Regions from separate parts of the Homo sapiens genome. Here region 2 is linked to region 1. The links are contacts of gene promoters, found by promoter capture Hi-C in blood cells and fetal thymus (Javierre and others, 2016). All regions are on one chromosome and are shown on one strand. The core of a region is centred on a gene start or on the middle of the fragment in contact, and the rest is flanking DNA. Distances in the headings are between cores, read along the strand shown.

What was found. Contacts are between HindIII fragments. The CHiCAGO score rates a contact against its expected background, and 5 or more counts as called.
Region 2: the fragment with the promoter of BEST4 here is called in contact with a fragment that was not itself captured in region 1 in 16 of 17 cell types (erythroblasts, megakaryocytes, monocytes and 13 more); the score reaches 17.6 in erythroblasts.

What each region holds. Positions count from the first base shown.
Region 1 is chr1:45,306,061-45,310,758 of GRCh38, reverse strand. No RefSeq gene overlaps it. Among named protein-coding and RNA genes, the nearest start is that of LINC01144, 4.5 kb to the right of the region's middle. RefSeq lists an enhancer at 4,167-4,346. The HindIII fragment of the contact is 1,403 bases long and covers 1,833-3,235 here.
Region 2 is chr1:44,785,729-44,790,213 of GRCh38, reverse strand. It overlaps BEST4 (bestrophin 4), which reads left to right and starts at 2,044. Exons shown (of 9, transcript NM_153274.3): 1 at 2,044-2,660; 2 at 2,748-2,842; 3 at 3,518-3,751; 4 at 3,986-4,140. The coding sequence starts at 2,509. RefSeq lists enhancers at 2,816-3,501, 3,503-3,592, 3,502-4,187 and a silencer at 3,713-3,842. The HindIII fragment of the contact is 5,761 bases long and covers 1-4,485 here.

The sequences.
Region 1 (4,698 bases), core at 1,285-3,784:
CACCATTTCATATTTGACAATGCTACCTGTATCATTTTTATACCAAATAAACCAAATTATGTCATTTTTGGACTTTAGGGAACCTAATCTCTCAAAGGATTAATTACATCAGAAAAAGACCTAATTTACAATTTGATTTTAGAAAGCTTGTTGAGTATCAAAGGTTTAAAACACTTGATATCACAAAATAGGATCACAGGTCATTGTCAAATAAGTCATTCATTTAACCAAAGTGATAACTCAATGTTTTTTTTTTTTAAAACCTTCATTCTTTGAGAGGCAACTTAATTTTCCAAGCAAGAAGACTTAAGAAAAACAGCAATAAGCTAATTAAATTTGTTTTTCAAAATTTTATAAGTGATCTAGAAAATTTTAATGTTGACCGTAAGATAGAGCTTCCATAAGCCTTTTATAAACTTTATAGGCTTTCTTTTTTTTTTTTTTTTTGAGACGGAGTCTGGCTCTGTCTCCCAGGCTGGAGTGCAGTGGCGCGATCTCGGCTCATTGCAAGCTCCACCTCCTGGGTTCATGCCATTCTTCTGCCTCAGCCTCCCGAGTGGCGGGGACTGCAGGCGCCCGCCACTACGCCCGGCTAATTTTTTGTATTTTTAATAGAGACGGGCTTTCACCATGTTAGCCAGGATGGTCTTGATCTCCTGATCTCATGATCCGCCTGCCTCGGCCTCCCAAAGTGCTGGGATTACAGGCGTGAGCTACCGCACCCAGCCTATAGCCTTTCTTAAGGAGTCAGTTAATGCTTCAAGAGGCAGGAGAGTCTCTTTTAATCTGACACAGGGGCCCATGTGCTAGTCTTTCATCAGCACATTCAAGTGCCTTTGACGTTAGTGATTAATATATAGAGAAATTGAACTTTATCTTTCAAAATCAGCCCTTAGAATCTCACGTGCCCACCTCTTCCATGATAGTCCCTGGGCCTTAAGGAGTTGAACGGCTTTAATTTTTGGCCCTGTGTCTCAGAAATGCAGTTTATTTTGACCGGCATCTTCTATGGAGCCTGATGAGGCTTTAATTGCTGTCAGTGTTTAAGATTTAGCAGGACTTGGTGTCCTTTTTGACCCAGGAGTCAAAGCCCTGTAACTCAAGGTCACAAGGACTTTAGAAGTACACACAAGAAGACACATGGATATAGTAACCTCAATTAAAAAAATTTTTGGGCTGGTCGTGGTGGCTCATGCCTATAATCCCAGCACTTTGGGAGCCCAAGGCAGGTGGATCACTTGAGGTCAGGAGTTCGAGACCAGCCTAACCAACATCATGAAATCCCGTCTCTACTAAAAATACAAAGATTAGCTGGGTATGGTGGCGTGCGCCTGTAATCCCAGCTACTCAGGAGGCTGAGGCAGGAGAATCGCTTGAACCCGGGAGGCAGAGGTTGCCTTGAGCTGAACATCCCTCCTTCTTAAACAATTAGTCATTTTATTTTAGGACTAAATTTACCATTCAATATTTTTTTTTTTTAGTAAGTGCTTTTTTTTTTTTTTTTTGAGATGGAGCCTTGCTCTGTTGCCCAGGCTGGAGTACAGTGGTGAAATCTCGGCTCACTGCAATCTCCACCTCATGGATTCAAGCAATTATCCTGTCTCAGCCTCCTGAGTAGCTGGGACTACAAGCGCATGCTGCCATGCCTGGCTAATTTTTGTATTTTTAGTAGAGATGGGGTTTCACCATGTTGGTCAGGCTGGTCCAGAACTCTTTACTTCAGGTGATCCACCCACCTTGGCCACCCAAAGTGCTGGGATTACAGGCATAAGCCACTGCTCGCAGCCACCATACAAGATTCTTTCTCGTATAACATTATTTCTCTTTAAGCTTTCTTACCATAAAAAACCTTTTTTTTTTCTGTCTTTACATCTCTTTTTATTTCCTGGTTTCTTTTACCTTGTTTTATTCACAACCTTAAAATAATCTTTGAATTAGACAAAACTTTTTCACCTTTTTTAAGAAAGTTCACACTTTTTAAAATCAAGAATGTTTTCCTATATTATATATTTTATTGGAAAATACCCAAATAATGAAATATCTATTAATTTAACTTTATATTATAAATTAAGACAAATTTGTCTGCCAGTATTTATCCCATTACATTTACCTAATTTTTTTATTTTAATGGTTTACCTAGATTATGAAAACCACAAGTCATGATTTTTTTTTTTTTTTTGAGATGTAATTTCGCTCTTGTTGCCCAGGCACCTGTAATCTACTGTAATCTCCAGTAGCTGGGATTACAGGCACATGCCACCACAGCTGGCTAATTTTGTATTTTTGGTAGAGACGGGGTTTCTCTATGGTGGTCAGGCTGGTCTTGAACTCTTGACCTCAGGTGATTTGCCTGCCTCATTCTCCCAAAGTGCTGGGATTATAGGCGTGAGCTACTGCACCCAGGCCCAAAAGTCATGATTTAAAGTTATGAAACCGCTGGGCGTGGTGGCTCATGCCTGTAATCCAGCACTTTGGGAGGCCGAAGTGGGCAGATCACCGGAGGTAAGGAGTTCAAGACCAGCCTGGCCAACATGGTGAAACCCCATATCTCCTAAAAATACAAAAATTAGCTGGGTGTGGTGGCGGATGCCTGTAATGCCAGCTACTAGGGAGGCTGAGGCAAGAGAATCCCTTGAACCAGGGAGGCAGAGGTTGCAGTGAGCCGAGATTGTGCCACTGCACTCCAGCCTGGGTGACAGAGTGAGACGCCATCTCCAAAAATAAAATTAAAAAATAAATAAAGTTATGAAACTGCCATTGCAAAATTATAACTGAGACAGTGAGGAAGATATGACCTAACTGACTCCATCTTGCTTCTAAACTCCAAGCTGTCGTTGTTCATTCCTGGACTTTGGGAGAAATTTAGTTTATAGTTTAGCTTTGAAACAAAGATGGTAACAGTCCTTTCCCAAAACAAACCTACCTACCATCTGTGGATTAGACTGCCTAAAGCCACAAAATTAGAGGTTATGGTAATTTTACTAAATAATTCAAGATATAACTACATTCATTAAACCAATATCAACATCTTATTTGTTAAAGGTTACACAAGCAAGATCATTCTGTCTTGGGCTGCGTTTATAGTTTTGTTACCCCTATGCCAAATTTTGACACCTTATAATATTTGGCAGGGATGAGTATGAAATTGCTTCATTAATACATGCAAAGAAAAATGTAGGCGGGCAATTCTTAAGATGTTTCTAATATTACCTTACCATTAATTTTAAAGCAAGCTTATTTATTAAAGATTTTACTTAAGTTACATAAACTTGAAAGAGCATTTCACTAGTCTTTTGTAGTATATGATTTAAGCGCTTTTCATTGTTTTAAGCCAATTAATTAGCACTCTTTTATATATTTTTAGTAGTGAAACACTGTGTACACAACACATAAATACACAGACATATTAGGCATGCTTTAGAACTACATTTTACAGATTTATGAAAACCTTTTTTTCCCCTATATTAGACTTTCAGATTCTTGATGACCTATTTCATAACCCTGGGCAGTTTTCAGCTAAATAGCCTTAAATTTGCATATTAAAGGAAACAACTTAGGTGAAAGTCAAATAGCAAAATTTACATTATAAGGTCGGAGAGAAAACGTTTGGTGTGCTAGAGGGAAATTAAAACAGATTTAATTGCCAATTAAGCATAAAATCGTAGAAATTATAAAGGCCTTTTAAATATATATACACACACACATAGACACACACATAAACAAATATCCTATAGCTTTTACTTCAGAACTTTTAGCCATGAGATAAACACAAATTCACCACCCTGCAAAAAGAACTTGTTGGATGCAGTGGTTTTTATCTTAATAGAAAAATAACAGCAGATTTAGAGCAGGCAGAAAAGAAAAAAATCGAGAAAAAGAGCACTTAGGAACTCTATAATTTGCAGGTCGATCTTAGGGCTCTTTTTCCTTAATGTAAATGTGCACAAAGACCATATTATTTCCATTTTACATAAACTTTGGCAAGTAGATGTGCCATACAACCTATGGAGTGCTGGAAAGGGGGTCATTCTCTTTGTTTCCTCCTCATTCTTATATTGTTTCCCAATTTTTTTTTCTCTCTTAATAGGAGGAACTGAGCTGTGGCCCAGGTTTTTTGATTGCTATGTGCTGCTTGTGGGCAGGATGCTACAGTGTGTCATCGCTGAGTCGTTTCCACCCTCTTACATGTCTCAGTTTCTCTCTCCAGAGGTTTATGACCCCAGAAAAGGCTCAAAAGGCTGGGCGATCAGCCCTTATATGCGTTTCCTGGATGAGCCATTTTTAAAATTAATTTTTGTTGGGGATTTCCCTCCAGGGCCGCTGCACGTCGCAAGGGGTTAACCCCCCCAGAGACTCCCATGAGGCCCCCAGTCACCTAGGGGCGCTTTCAGCTGGGAGGAGTAAATGCCTTTTCTCTTCAGAGCTGAGAAAACTGTCATTAACGTATGAAAACAACAGTTCACTTCTTCACGCAAATGCACACAGACAAACCGAATTAAGTTTAAATTTGGGAGAAAAAGCAATAGAGAAGACCCTTTAGAATGCATCTCTGAACAAGAATTAGGATCCTTAAACAACAACTTCAGACTGGAACAAAGCAACAACAACAAAAAAACCAACAATATGATCACTGAGCGCTCTAATGGTAAGGAGAAATTAAGACCAGCTGGTTGTTAATCTTAACTTTATCCAAGACAA
Region 2 (4,485 bases), core at 795-3,294, 520 kb after region 1:
GGGACTGTCTGGCTTGGAAGGCTTGGTAGGCAAGACTGGACCAGTCGTGGGAAACCAAAGAGAACAGATTCAAATTTTCATAGTAACAGCAGCCCAAGCCAACCACCCACAGTGCTTTAGGCCATAGGCATTGTTTCTGTGAATACTCAAAATTGCCCCATGAGGTTAGGCGTTCTTGATTCTGATTTGCAGAGGAGGAAACTGAGGTTCAGAGAGATTAGGTAACTTGCACAGTTACAAAGAGCTGGGGTTCAGACCCAGGTTTGTCCAATTCCCAAGCCTGTGCTCCTAATCACCTCTCTATGCTTCCTATCTTTAGGAAACTTGCAGAAGAGAACCAGCTCACAGTGTAGGGGGAGGAGCTTCCCAAAACAAGACAGAGGCAGGACCACCACTCTTGGGATTTTTCAGTGTTCACTTACCTCAGCACTGGGAGGGTAAGTAAGCTGCCAATTCTCTTCCACTTTGAGGTTCTATTTCTTTTCTTTTCTTTTTTCTTTTTCTTTTTCTTTTTTGAGACAAAGTTTTGCTCTTGTTGTCCAGGCTGGAGTGCAATGGCATGATCTCGGCTCACCGCAATCTCCACCTCCCAGGTTCAAGCGATTCTTCTGTCTCAGCCTCCGGAGTAGCTGGGATTACAGGCATGTGCCACCATGCTCAGCTAATTTTGTATTTTTAGTAGAGATGGGGTTTCTCCATGTTGGTCAGGCTGATCTCGAACTCCCGACCTCAGGTGATCCGCCTGCCTCGGCCTCCCAAAGTGCTGGGATTACAGGCGTGAGTCACAGTGCCTGGCCTTTTTTTTTTTTTTTTTTTTTGAGACAGAGTCTCTGTCACCCAAGCTGAAGTGCAGTGGCACAATCTCAGCTCACTGCAACCTCTCCCTCCCGGGTTCAAGCGATTCTCCCATTGAGATTCTATTTCTTTTTCTTTTTCTTTTTCTTTCTTTCTTTTCTTTTTTTTTTTTTTTTGATTACCCAGGCTAGAGTGCAGTGGCACGATCTCAACTCGTTGCAACCTGCGCCTCCCCAGGTTCAAGCAATTCTCCTGCCTCAGCCTCCCATGTACCTGCTGGGATTACAAGTTCGTGCCACCACACCCGGCTAATTTTTGTATTTTTAGTAGAGACAGGGTTTCACCATGTTGGGCCAGGCTAGTCTCGAACTCCTGACCTCAAGTGATCCACCTGCGTTGAGGCTGCCCAAAGTGCTAGGATTACAGGTGTGAGCCACCTTGCCTGGCAGCGGAAGTTCTATTTCTATCAGCGCCTTAGGTATTACTTCCTCCAGAGGTGAAAGTGGCCACTCAAATCTTGGGCACCCCTAGGAGTCAGGATGTTGGACACAGGGCTTAACGGAGCCTGCACTCCTAGGCCTGAGCTTCCAGATCTGTGGCTGTCAGCCCCGTGGCATGGATGGAGAAGAGCCTGGCCAAGCCCCCAAGCCCCTGTACAAGAAGACTGGGAGTGTGGCCAGTGCACAGGATGGGTCCTGGAGCTCATGCCTTTGCTAGGCCACTTCCAGCCTTGGAAGTCCATCAGCCCTGGCTTTGAATCCTGCCTCCAACATGTTCTAGCTGTATGGCCGACGGCGGGCAAGTCATTTACCTCTTGGAGCCTCATCTGTGAAATGTGGATGATTGATTCCCTACCTCATGGTGCTGTGATGAGGATTTCTTGAGAGGATGACCTAGTAGTGCCCTTGGCATGGTTCCTGTCACTTAGTCAGTGCTCTGTGATCAGCAGCTGGTATTATTATAACAGTTTATCATGCATCTGTCTTCCCACCTGAAACGTGGGACAATAACCCCTGTCATACTGGCTTGAAGGACATGGTGTCGTCTGTGTGAGCTGTGGGGTCAGTATAGCTGGCATTTCTGCCACTCGAAGGCCAGCCCAACCCTACAGGGGTAAGGAGACACACCCAGTTCCCAGCACCAGGGGAAGCTGGATGACAGCTTCAATCCATCAATGATAGGCCTCAGTCCAGCCTAACTTTATGGACTGCAGAGGTACTTAAGTCTGTGGGGGTTGAAGTCTAGCCCAGTTCATCTTCCACACGGGCTGCTGCCCAGAGCAGGTAGGCAGGTATGGGATGGGGGTGAGAGTGCCCTGGGCCCTGGTAGTTCTAGTTAATCAGCTTCCAAAGCAAGGCCCCAAGGAATAGCAGTGGATTTGGGCTGGAGCTGCGTCTCTTGTCCGCAGCAGTTCAGGATCTGGTTATCCCTAGCCCTGCAGGCTGAAGAGGAGCTTGAGGAAACCTCATGCATGAAGGGACACAGATCTCAGTTCTACCTTGTCCAACTCTAGCCTGGCTTTGCCCATGTACTGCTCAGTTCTGCAGGGGGTGGGGTGTACTTTTCTGCTCTGCAGGCTCCTACCCCCTTGTCCACTGACGCAGGGTGAAGGCTGGGGTGTGTGAGACCAGAGTGGAAGGGAGGTTGTCTGGAGAACTAAACGACAGCCCTGGGGGCAACTCTTGTGACCTCCTGCCCCAGGCTCCCAGCACCATGACGGTTTCATACACTCTCAAAGTGGCGGAGGCCCGCTTCGGAGGTTTCTCTGGCCTGCTTCTCCGCTGGAGGGGAAGCATCTACAAGCTCCTCTACAAGGAATTCCTCCTCTTTGGGGCCTTGTACGCTGTGCTTAGCATCACCTACCGGTAAGGGCAGGGTCTTAGAGCTGGCGCAAGTGGGGAGACTGGGCCACCCACCTCCCTCTAACCCAAGCCTACACCTGCCTTCCCCAGGCTGCTGCTGACCCAGGAGCAGAGGTACGTGTATGCTCAGGTGGCCCGGTACTGCAACCGCTCAGCAGACCTCATTCCCTTGTCCTTTGTATTGGGTAAGGCTCCCTTCTAGTTTTCCCTGTGTCCCCCTTACTGTGTTCCCTGACCTCTGGGTTGGGTTGACAGCTCCGAGGGTCAGAATTACCCAACAGATGGTGTGGTGACACACCTGCAGTCTCAGCTACTCGAGAGGCTGAGGTGAGAGGATCGCTTGAGCCCAGGAGTTCCAGTCCAGCCTGGGCAATGTAGCGAGACTCTGCTAAAAAAAAAAAAAAAAAAAAAAAGAATTACTCAACACGGTGGCAGAGCCTTCCTGGTCAGCCAGAGCAGGCCCAGCAGGCACAGGAGCTGGGTGCTGGGTCCAGGACTTCCAGAGGGCAGGGCCCTATCACTTGCCGGACCCTCACTTCCAGCAAGGCACAAGACACCTGCTGGCCTCACAAGCCCACCCTGGGCACTGCAGGGGAGCTGGACAGAGGTGACAACCCCTTCCCCACCCTCCTGGGAAGCAGTCTCCTGGCTTTGAATCCCCACTTTCCCTCTGCTGAAGGAAGTTTGCCCTCCTCCCTCCTCCTGGCCTCGCACAGCAGGGCACTGGAGCTGAATGTTTCCTTCCCCCTGCCACGATTCAACTGGCCTGGACCAGGCCCTTTGCTGGGGGAGGTGAGGCGCTCCGACCCCCAGGCTCTCCACTCTCCCTTCCTACTCCCTCTATCACGGCGGCCAAGCAGGTTTCTATGTGACTCTCGTGGTGAACCGCTGGTGGTCCCAGTACACAAGCATCCCGCTGCCAGACCAGCTGATGTGCGTCATCTCGGCTAGCGTGCACGGCGTGGACCAGCGGGGCCGCCTGCTGCGCCGCACCCTCATCCGCTACGCGAACCTGGCGTCCGTGCTGGTGCTGCGCTCGGTCAGCACCCGCGTGCTTAAGCGCTTCCCCACCATGGAGCACGTGGTGGACGCAGGTGCGCCGCCCGCCGGGAGCCTCTGGGGGTCCGGCCCACAGCCGGATGCAGGTGGCGCCTGGGAGAGTCCTGGGAGCAGGGGCCTCCAGGGAAGGGTCTGGACTGCGACAGGAACGCGGAACCGCGAGTCCTGGGACAGCCGGTGGACGCGAGGGAGGGGAGCCAGACGGCGGAACAGCAGCCTCCCCTGGCGGCAGAGGGTGCAACTGCACCCCACCTGCTTTACCCCCTCAGGTTTCATGTCCCAGGAAGAGAGGAAAAAGTTTGAGAGCCTGAAATCCGACTTCAACAAGTACTGGGTCCCCTGCGTCTGGTTCACCAACCTGGCGGCCCAGGCCCGGAGGGACGGGCGAATACGTGACGATATCGCTCTCTGTCTACTTTTGGAAGTGAGTGGGCTCAGGACCAGACCCATCTGCCCTCCTCCCTCTAATTTTAAAGATGAATAATAATTTTAATACCTAACAGTTGTATGGCATCAGCTGTGTACCCCAGCCTTTTGGAAGCCCTGTACCCATGTTAACTCATTCATCCCTTACAGCAACTCTTGACATAGGTACTATCATCCTCCTTGCACAGATGTGGAAACTGAGGCACAGAGTAGAAAAGAAATTTGCCTAAGTTACACAGCTAGTTAGCAGAGCTGGGATTCAAGCACCCCATCTTAATACACCTCTGAGGGCAGAATGAGAAAGAGCCTCCTGGCCAGGCCCAGGCCTAGTTTGTGCTGGGCA